Regions from separate parts of the Homo sapiens genome. Here all the other regions are linked to region 1. Evidence: promoter capture Hi-C in 16 types of primary human blood cells and fetal thymus (Javierre and others, 2016). All regions are on one chromosome and are shown on one strand. The core of a region is centred on a gene start or on the middle of the fragment in contact, and the rest is flanking DNA. Distances in the headings are between cores, read along the strand shown. Region 1 holds the start of SLC25A48 (solute carrier family 25 member 48). Region 2 holds the start of DCANP1 (dendritic cell associated nuclear protein 1). Region 3 holds the start of NEUROG1 (neurogenin 1).

The links. The method cuts DNA at HindIII sites, captures the fragments that hold promoters and counts their contacts. A CHiCAGO score of 5 or more calls a contact.
Region 2: a contact is called between the fragment with the promoter of DCANP1 here and the fragment with the promoter of SLC25A48 in region 1, in 1 of 17 cell types (megakaryocytes). The highest score is 9.6, in megakaryocytes.
Region 3: the fragment with the promoter of NEUROG1 here is called in contact with the fragment with the promoter of SLC25A48 in region 1 in 4 of 17 cell types (M1 macrophages, megakaryocytes, M0 macrophages and 1 more); the score reaches 8.2 in M1 macrophages.

The regions. Positions count from the first base shown.
Region 1 is chr5:135,832,733-135,836,221 of GRCh38, reverse strand. SLC25A48 (solute carrier family 25 member 48) reads right to left here and starts at 1,559. Exons shown (of 8, transcript NM_001349336.2): 1 at 1,329-1,559. The coding sequence starts at 1,374. RefSeq lists an enhancer at 2,093-2,594. The HindIII fragment of the contact is 1,059 bases long and covers 1,369-2,427 here.
Region 2 is chr5:135,445,813-135,449,301 of GRCh38, reverse strand. It overlaps DCANP1 (dendritic cell associated nuclear protein 1), which reads left to right and starts at 1,954. Exons shown (of 1, transcript NM_130848.3): 1 at 1,954-3,489. The coding sequence starts at 2,194. The coding sequence ends at 2,928. TIFAB (TIFA inhibitor) reads left to right here. Exons shown (of 2, transcript NM_001099221.2): 2 at 1-3,489. RefSeq lists an enhancer at 1-85. The HindIII fragment of the contact is 6,394 bases long and covers 1,228-3,489 here.
Region 3 is chr5:135,534,115-135,537,603 of GRCh38, reverse strand. NEUROG1 (neurogenin 1) reads left to right here and starts at 1,640. Exons shown (of 1, transcript NM_006161.3): 1 at 1,640-3,322. The coding sequence starts at 1,914. The coding sequence ends at 2,627. RefSeq lists an enhancer at 1,138-1,653 and a silencer at 1,771-2,065. The HindIII fragment of the contact is 9,722 bases long and covers 1-3,489 here.

The DNA of each region.
Region 1 (3,489 bases), core at 310-2,809:
TTTGGGGATGGGGAGGGGTATCAGAGTCTTGGAACTACTCTGACTCAGCCCTACCTTCCAGGGCATTTTTCAAACCAAGCCATTTGCATCCCTACCGAAGGTGGTCTGCTTATTTAAGGGGCAGCCCACGGAAGTGTCTCCTCTCTCTGCCTGCCCCGCTGAATGGTGGAATAATTGTCCAGTCAAAAAGGACCTGGATATGCCCAGCGGGCCTCAGGCTGCAGCCCCCTAACTGGGAAAGTTAGGAGAGGCGGGTCTCAGCCCCACCCAAGGGCATCTGTGCCAACAGACTTACTCAAGGTGAAAGGAGCCACCTCTGCTCAGGAAGGTGTGAAGCAGGGCCCTGCAGCCACCGGTCTCGGGAGAGAGGTGGTCTCCTGCTAGGTAGGAGGGGAGGAGTTGGGATCCAATCTGGTTTGTTGTTCTTTTCATCTTATTTTTTCACCCCTTTGGTGAGGGGCTACATTTGCCAACATCCCTTTTAGGATAACCCTTTTAGATGGGTCCAAAGAAAGACTTTTTTTTTTTTTTTTTTTTTTTTTTACAATTAGCAAAGTCCCTCAAACTTCCCCCTTTCCTAATAGCTGAGAAAAGAGGGATAGACCAATTGGAAAGAAAAATGGAGAAGCAAGGAAATGAATGCAACTCTCGCCCAGGCAACCCATCCCAGGCCCAGTAAAAGAGTGGCTTCGGGAGCTGTGGCGAAGGGATCAGCAGACCCAACAGTGCCCGGAGAAGGGGCCTTGGAGGTAGGCGATGGCTGACGGTTGGCGGCGGCTGAAGGCAATAAGTGCTCCTCGCAGCCTGGCAATGGGCACCTGCAGCCGGCGCTCCGCTCCCTGCTGTGAGAGCTCTGCTCCCTCCAGTCGGGACGCCCCGTTGGGCCGGCCTAATCTCGAAGCCTGGCTCCCACCACCCTGCGCCCCGGGATCAGCAGCCAAGCGCTACCCTCATACATAAGTTCCCGCGAGCCACGTCCGCAATTCAGGTGTGCACCAGGTCACTGAAGGGTGTGTGCGCCGCCAGGAGCCTCCATTGGCTGTGGGCTTTGACGAGCTGTTTAATCATTACCTCATCAAGTCCCACGGATCCTAACTTAATGAGCAAATCAGAAGCTCAGCCCGAAACGCTGTGAAGCTCTCAGAATTTAGCCCTGGCAACTGCAAGACCACCAGGGGGATCTCGGGGCCGGGCACTCCCCAAAGCAGGCTGCGCGCACAACGGGGAGCGGGATGGCAGCGCACAGAGGCAAAGTTTCCTCAGAGCATAGAGGCAAACTCCGCCAGGCTCGCTCTCTCTGACCGGGGGTCCCCGGTAAGCACACTCACCTCCGATCCAGCCCGCCGCAAAGTCTTCCAGCTGGAAGCTTCCCATGGCCGGCGCTCGGTCTCGCCCTCCCGGAGCCGGGGCAGTGCCCACTTAGAGTCAGTGGGGCATGGCCCGCGGGCGCGAGCGCGCCGCAAGACCGAAGTCGGAGTCTCGAGCACGCCGCAGGTCCTACTCCAAACCCAGTCCCCCAGTCACCGGCTGCGCGGGCTGCCGCGCTCACCTCTCCAAGTGCCGGAGGGCGGCTGACATCACGCCCCCAGTGGACCTTAAAGGCACAGCACTCTGGGTGGATAAGGGTGCGCTCCGCGCGGCTCATCCCAGACACAAAGAGGCAAGGGTCATCAAGTGAAATTCTCTTAGTCCTCCCTTCTCCGGGTTATCCTCTTCCTTGCCAACTTCAGAGCCTCAGCGCCTTTGAACTGAAAGTGCCAGCCGCCCATCCAGAGACGGCAATGCGCGTATCTCCCTGTACTGTGCTGTGCTGACAATGCTGATTCCAATCAGCTGTGGACTCTCTCCCATCCCAACTCTGGGCAGTGATGCCTTTTTGTTCATCTCAGCCATGTCCCACTCAGTACCCCGTGCCTAGAGCAGGCACCTGGTGGTTCAGGGTCATGTCTAACTTTCAGCTACAGCTCTCTAGGGGCCCAGCTCCCTGCCTGGCCCTGGCTCACCCTACACTGTCCGCCCTGGGCCAACAGAAGGCAGAGGTGGTGCTCTGTACCTCAAACTCCCTCTCTGTAGGCAGACCCTACATTCAGCCAGGCCCCAGGCCAGGGGTCCGTGCTCACTGGAGAAGTGGCCTGCTGTGCGGAGAGGCTTTTGATTACAATGAGAGTGTCTTTCCTCCCTTCCTAAGAAGACTCGAAGCCCCCCAGCGTTCTGCTAGTTTCCAGCAGGGACTCAGCTGTGGGTCTCAGCCAAGACACCCCAAGGTTGACAAGAATGGTGAAGGGTATGGTCAGGAGGAAGGGGCCTCTGCTGGGCCTGCTCTTGTCCCACTGGGCATATTCATGTCACGTCATCCAGGTTAATATGAAGCGACAGCCAGCCAGACCTCCTTCTTCCAAAGCAAGACAGAGCCTGACCACCGAAGCTTGATCCTACAAAGGCCTGTCCACTGAGGAGTGGGGACTTGGAGGTGAAGGGACCTTCCTGCAGCATCACTCCCTCCCCTGCCCCGGCACACAGAGAGTGGACCTGTATCGGGAGAGGACAGCCCGGGATGGAGTCGCCGGCCTGGCTAGGGAAGTATTGCAAAGTTCCAGGGAGGAGTGGAAGCATCACACCCCATCCCGGCACCTCAACTTCCTGCTGCTTATGGTGACCCACTCAGTCTTGAGGCTTCAGAGTTGCCATCAGCATCAACCCCAAGCTGTGCCCTGTCATGCCCGGGATATATGCCTAGGGCTGCTATGAGAAATGCAGGTCTCTGAAGAGTGGCCTTTTACTGAGTTCACCATTGGAATGCATCCACAAGTGGAAAGCCTGACAATTCTCAAAACCCACTCCTCTGGAAGACCACCTAAGGGGTGCCAGGCAGTTTGTCATCCCCTCAGTCCTGTGTCAGCACCAATTGAGGAGGTCTTACGTTGGCAGGCAGTGTCCCTGGCAGCCCAGGATGGCCTCCCAGGCCCAGAAAGCTGCTGCTTGAACTACTAACGAGCTGGAGCAGAGCAGGAGTGGGTTGCTTTCCAAAATGAATTACTGTGCTCCATTCCCATATGCATGCCACAAACCTGCCCATGGGGCGCATCACCCAGGGAAGTGAGGGGAGGACCCTAGGTTTACCAGCAACCATGGCCAGGCCTGGAGAATCCCAGACCACAGGGCTATGAGCCCAGGCAGAATGCTGGCTCTGTGGCCAGGATCCAGGCCATCCCTTCTTCCTGGCCTTCGCACTTCAGAGCACCATTTGCAGTGTGCTGCCATTCACATTTGCATTCTACACTCGGGAGAGGGCAGGGCAGCTACTGGCCATTACAGAGAGAAAGAAACTCCACAGAGATCCACTCCCTGCATGACTAGGGCCAGAAAGCAACCCCATTTTCTTTCTCCCTCAGTTCCTTCCCCAATGATGACCTCTCAGAGCACTTTCCTCAGTAGCAGGACATGCAGATGGGCTATGCTGATAGCATTTGTTAACTAGTGGCCCACTCC
Region 2 (3,489 bases), core at 705-3,204, 390 kb after region 1:
CTAGATGAAACAGGATTTGAAATACTTGAGCTGCATCATGCAAGGTTGACAAGCAAAACCCACTGGCTGCCTTGCTCATAATGAACCAATTCTGCAAACACCGAACAAACAGCCCAGGGGGGAGAAGCACCCTCTGTGGCCAGAGCTATGCAATGTAATGGGAACATCATATACTTTTAGAGGCCCTGAGGGGTTCTGGGGAGCCTCTCTCAGCATTTCCACACATTTCTCCCTGTTGTCTGACTAGGAGTTACTTTATGTGGTTCATTTTGTGTGCTGCTTAAGAGCAGGAGTTTGAGGTTGCACCAGGAATGCGTGGACACATGTAACAATTACATTTGTGGTAGCTTGGGGTTACCTTCAGCTTTCAAATACCCACAGGCACGCGGGGCTTAGGAAAGCCTGAGTGTAATAAACTGCAAGTATTTCATTAAGCTGGCATACCCAATAGGATTCCCTGATCCCCAGATGGGCCACATGCACGCCACGCTGTCATGCAGACGTGGGGGTGGGAAATATAGACGAGGTGTAAGAGGAAATTGGAAAGGTGGGACTCACATTTCTGGAAAGGATGCAGGCAGGGCTCAGGGTTTCCTGAGGATGGGAGCTGGGAGCTGGGCCTGCCTGGAAATTCATTGTCCCCCTTATCATCCTCATCCTCACACTCCGCATTCTCTGTCACTTCTGGATCAAGGCCTTGGTTGACTTGAGGGCAAGGTCTTTAGGGAATGAGGGGATGGGGTGGGGGTTTGTGTAAGAACTCAGCCCAGCAGTTATTTCGCTCAGGGTGAGTCACACACCAATGGGGGTGGGGGAATTCCTTCCAAATAAGGGACTCGTTAGGAGCCAGGTACGCCAAGGGCAGGAGGATTTTCTCGGTGAACAAGGGCAGCAGCTATTTGCCACGCCATGCTGAGAAGGGGAGAGTGTGGTTTAGAAACAACGTTCACTAGTGTGATGCAGGGAGGGATCTACATGGTCACCATGATCCCAGACCCCACTCTCCAGGGAATCTGAGGCACCAAGGGCACAGCCCTGTTCCCCTGGCTGACTCGAATCTCTGGGTCTGTAGCTGTCAACAATTTCTGTTTTCTGCCCAAAAGGATGATCGTTTTGCACCCAGGGCAAGCTACAAGGAGGTCCAACTTCACTCACAGGCCCTGAGCATCTTCTCCATCAGGAAAACAGAGGTGGGCAAGACCCAGGCTTGCCCTGGTGTGGGAAGCTTCCTCTCCAATAGGGATGAAGCAAAAACACTCAGATCACAGCCACAAGGCAGGGAGAGCAGGGCTGCTAGGAAGGGGCTCTCTGATGCTGTGAATGACCCCTTGGGACCCCCAAAGCAGTTCCTCATTCATTCAGCAAACCTTCACCAAGCACCCACCTTGTGCCAGATCTGTGCAAAGCCACGGAACTGAACCAGAAGTGAATAAGGCAAACTCCCTCAGGGAGTTTACCTTGCACTCAGGAAAGTCAAGCATTCAGGAGTGCATTACTTATTTGATCACTACTATGATTAGTGCTATAGTCATTGTATTTTTCTCTCTCCTCCAGCTGGGCTCACATTCTCTTGTTAAGTGGCCTTGCCTGTTGAGTGCCTACCATGTGCTTAGCACTCTGCTAGGTGCTGTGTGTATTAACTGCACTTAACAGATAAGGAAACTGAGACTTGGAAAGGTTACATATCTTGCCCAACATCACACCATCAGTAGCTATGCGATTTGGGCAAGTGATTTAGTCTGCTCTTGCCTCTATTTCTCCCGCTGGAAAATGGGTAAGATAATAGTACTACCTGCTAGAGTTACGAGGGTCTTAGAAGGTGACACCTGTAAAGCATTCAATCAGTGCCCAGCACACACTTAATAAGGGTTAGCTACTATCATGAGACCTGAGAGAGGAGGGCTCACCATCCACACGGAGCTAAGGAAGACTCACACCCCAGTAAGCTGGCTCCAGAACCCAAGGGCTTACCTGTGCTCTGTGATTCCCCAACTAGGGATTTAGTTGTAGCCACGGACCTGGTAGGCAACAGGGAGGGGATTTTAATCTGCTCCTTGCATCAGAAGGTCCAATAGGCAGGGTTAGTATAATGGGAGATGCCCTGGTAGGGCTGGCAAGGAGAAGAAGCCACATGTATTTTGGTCTGATGAAAAGCAGCAGTGATCTGTCACTGACCAAAATGGTCCCCCAACTATGCATTACGGAGCAGCAACCCACATACAGAACTCGAGAAGCCACGGCCTGGAGACTGTACCTGGACACCAAAGACTGGAGAGAGGAGCTGGTGGGGAAACCCCAGAGTTCCCAGGGTGCCACTCCCCAGCTCCACCAGAGAACTTTGGGAATGAGCTGCTGCCCCTGAGTGCCCCTCTCCAGGGCCTCAGTGAGGGTCTCTACCCTCCAGGGAGGAACAAAACCTTGCCAGCTGGGGTCCTGCGAGAGGGGGCAGTTCAATTCCTCCACAGGGGACTCTGCAACTCCAATCTTTCGAGTGAAGCATCTGCGAGGCCCTCAGGGACCCAGGATGAACTGCATAGCAGCAGAAGGAAGACAGGCCAGACCAGGCGGGAGGGAGCCCGGAAACATCTGGTTTGTAGTTTCAGACTCTACCCGTTCACAGTTCACACAGTCTCACCGGGAAACTCACACCTTGCCCTGTACCAAGTTTTTAAGGCAGTTAAGCTCTGCCCATCCGAGACTTCATTTTTCTTGAGTAGAAAATCACTGAAATCATCAGATCCATGGCACCCACCTTCACTTTCTCCTAACAGCTGGAACCGTCAGGCTGGCTTCAGGGCCTGGTCTTCGCACTTGATATCACTATCCCTCACCTGCTCAGACAGCCAGAGCAGGCGGGTGAGTTCCTCCCAACAACCTCCACTGCATTCTCTCAGCTCCCACCGCAGGGCAGCCCACGTGCCTGAGTGAACATGTGTGCGTGTGCACACACGCAAGTATGCACAGACATACACTAAACACGAACATACAGTGCACATGAACGCTGCTCCCAGCTAGGGCCCTCTGGTCAGACTGCTGCCTGGGTTAGAATTCTTGTCCCCACCCCCACTTACTATAGTTCTGTGATCCTGGACAAGTAACTGAATCTCTCCGTGCCACAGTTTCTTCTTGTAGAAAACGGGAAAGTTCACAGTACTTACCTCCTTAGAGTCATTGTGAAGGTCAGTTTGAGGCATCACAAATTTAAGGCACCCAGACATAAGGGTCAACAGGGTTAGCTATCACTGTCCAGTTTGGTGGGAGGAACTGAATGCATGTAGGCACATGGACCCAGTCTACACTCAGGCACAAAAGGAGCTACATTAGTTACATTCAGGCATACCCCAGAGCACTACAATTCTCTGAGACATTGTCTGGAAATCTAGAAATCATCTCCTTGCCCTTTAAGGTATTTTAACCCTCGCATTCCTCTGCTTTTCCAAGAATGTGAATCTTGCCAAGCTGTCCGTGAGAGACACGGGCTCCCCTCGA
Region 3 (3,489 bases), core at 391-2,890, 300 kb after region 1:
GTGACTTCTAATAAATCTCGAGCCCTTATATATGACTGTGTCCTAGCCTTCCACTGAGATCAGGGGTACCTGCAGGGTGCAGTCGGGGAAGGGGACAGCTGGGCAGAGTCCCCTGAGCCAGAAGGCAAGCGCTGGTCAGTGAGTCGAGGTGGGAACTGCCACTACACAGCCCCCTTTCTCAAAGGGGCCAATCCCCCCCCAACCCAAAGAGTCAGCTAGGCTCCCATGGCAGCAGGCCAGGCATCCGGCCTGAGGCTACCACTTGGATATCAGGTGGGGGGCAGGCACTTTGCTGAAAGCTGCTCATTTTGTTTTTAATACCCTCATCCTATAATCGAGTGCTGTTCCTTACTATTTATCCTCCAAGTACAAAGTTGGGTGATGTCTGGGCCCCTGTGGCTCCTGGGTGAGTGTAGGTGACAAGAGAAAAGTAACTCCTGACATGCAGAGGGAAGACCTGCTGGAATAGGCGAGTTTAAGACACCGAAGGCGGGAGGGGGTTTGGAGGAAAGGGGTTCCACTGTCACCTGCTGCCCTCCAGGGGCCAGCTCTCTCTCGGGCCAGGGGAGCTGGATCCCCTGGCTGGCTCACCCTGAAGAGGGCCACAGAGGCTGCAAGCAGGGCTCCAAGAGACGGTGTGCAACGGATTTCTCCGGGCATGGGGCAGGCAAGGTTTCAGGAACGCCAAAGAAAAGGAAATTCTCATATTAATAATTATATTCTCATATTATTATTTATATAAATTCTCATATTATTAATTCTTATTAAGAATCTTGAGGTGACTTGTGGGCAGAGGTGCGGAGGAGGGTGGAGAAGGGAAGGGAAAGAAGGGAAGGGTGAGACCAAGACTCAAGGCAACCTGGGAAATCACCCGATCCTCTTTTCCACTCTCCTCTTCGCACTCCCCAGATGAAGGTCAGATTCTTTCCCGTTTCTTCATCAGCCTGAACGGAGCAGCGACACTTATCCTTGCCCTGCGCCCTGTGCCTCTGGCATGGCCACTCTCCAGTCTATTTGAAAATGATTTTCACCCTGTTCAGCGGATGCTGCACATTTAGTGTTCCACAAACATTATATCTGATCATCCTCCACAGGGTAAACTTTTGTCTCATCTTACAGGTGGGGAAAGCAATGCTCAGGGAAGTTAAATTACTCGTCCAAAGTCACGCGACCACTAAGCAGCTGGAGAGGGGATGCGAACCCAAACTCCAAGTACCCTCCAGGTTTCCGCAACTCACTGGGCGGCTCACACTTTCGCGCTCGCGCCCCGCCTCCCCGTCCCACCCCAGCGAGGGGCGCCCAGCCCGCCCCAAGAGGAGCGTGCCTCGGCCGCTAATCGCCCGCCGACCCCGCCTCTGTTTCACTGCCTGGAGACGCCCTGGCCAGCTTAGCCCGAGCCGACTCCCGGGGCCGCGCGACGCCGCCGATTGGCCGGCGGTAATTACGGGCACACTCCGGGTTGGGGGAGGGGCGATGGCGGCCTCCCGCGAGCATAAATTATGCAAATACCCGGGCGCTGCACGGGGATGACCTGCCGCCTCGCTCCATTCACCCGGGCTGCCGCGGGGGCGGAGGTGGCAAGGGAGGGGGGCGCCCATTGTTGCGCCGGGTACTTAAGGGGTCCTGAGGCCAGTCGTGTGCCACACTCGGTGCTCACACGAGCTGATCTGATCGCCGGCGACATCACTCAGGAGACCGGCCGGGCGCGTGGCCCCTGCAGGCGAGGCGAGGAGGCCAGGCCAAGTTCTCCGTGCGCCCCTGCACCCTTCCAGGCTCTCGCACCCGCAACTGGCACAGAGTAACAACCCCAGGCTGTTGGGAACGTAAGTGCGCCCTGGCGGCTCTGCCCTCAGTCCGGGCTGCAGCGCTCTGAGCGCCTTTCTATCTGTCCGTCGGTCCTGCACAGCGCAACGATGCCAGCCCGCCTTGAGACCTGCATCTCCGACCTCGACTGCGCCAGCAGCAGCGGCAGTGACCTATCCGGCTTCCTCACCGACGAGGAAGACTGTGCCAGACTCCAACAGGCAGCCTCCGCTTCGGGGCCGCCCGCGCCGGCCCGCAGGGGCGCGCCCAATATCTCCCGGGCGTCTGAGGTTCCAGGGGCACAGGACGACGAGCAGGAGAGGCGGCGGCGCCGCGGCCGGACGCGGGTCCGCTCCGAGGCGCTGCTGCACTCGCTGCGCAGGAGCCGGCGCGTCAAGGCCAACGATCGCGAGCGCAACCGCATGCACAACTTGAACGCGGCCCTGGACGCACTGCGCAGCGTGCTGCCCTCGTTCCCCGACGACACCAAGCTCACCAAAATCGAGACGCTGCGCTTCGCCTACAACTACATCTGGGCTCTGGCCGAGACACTGCGCCTGGCGGATCAAGGGCTGCCCGGAGGCGGTGCCCGGGAGCGCCTCCTGCCGCCGCAGTGCGTCCCCTGCCTGCCCGGTCCCCCAAGCCCCGCCAGCGACGCGGAGTCCTGGGGCTCAGGTGCCGCCGCCGCCTCCCCGCTCTCTGACCCCAGTAGCCCAGCCGCCTCCGAAGACTTCACCTACCGCCCCGGCGACCCTGTTTTCTCCTTCCCAAGCCTGCCCAAAGACTTGCTCCACACAACGCCCTGTTTCATTCCTTACCACTAGGCCCTTTGTAGACACTGTTACTTTCCCCCTCCCCTAGTCAGCAGGCAATAGATGGGGCCCCAGCTGCCGCCTCGGGACCCCCTCTCCAGGCGGAGGGAGGAAGCGGGAGCTTTAAAGCAGTCGGGGATACCTGAGCCGCTTGTTAGGTCGCCGCACCCTCGCGGCGGATGTCTCTTGGTCTGTTTCTCCGGCCCTCAGCCCAGCGCCCCTCCTGCCCGCCCCTAGACGGCCTTTCCTTTTGCACTTTCTGAACTCCACAAAACCTCCTTTGTGACTGGCTCAGAACTGACCCCAGCCACCACTTCAGTGTGATTTAGAAAAGGGACAGATCAGCCCCTGAAGACGAGGTGAAAAGTCAATTTTACAATTTGTAGAACTCTAATGAAGAAAAACGAGCATGAAAATTCGGTTTGAGCCGGCTGACAATACAATGAAAAGGCTTAAAAAGCAGAGACAAGGAGTGGGCTTCATGCATTATGGATCCCGACCCCCACCACTGCAGACTCGCTCTAGGAAGAACTGGAGACTCTTGCTTAGCTATTCAGGCACAGGGCTGGAGAGTACTTTAATTTATTCAAGATGCTTCATTCATATGAAAATGTATTTTTGTACATAAAGAGTTTATTCTATTATGAGCTATCAAAGTTTACATTTTTGTACTGCAGACGCTTCATGTAAATAAAAACTAAAAATAAGTCGCCAAGTTTCTTGCCTAATATTAGTGTCTCTGGGGCTTTTCTTGCTTTTCCCTGCTGGCTCAACCACTAAAGTGAAACACTATCCCACTCACCTCCAAAGCCTCTGTTCCTGTTTCAAAAACAATTAAAAAATAAAACGCACCTGATTTCCACCAAGAAATGGA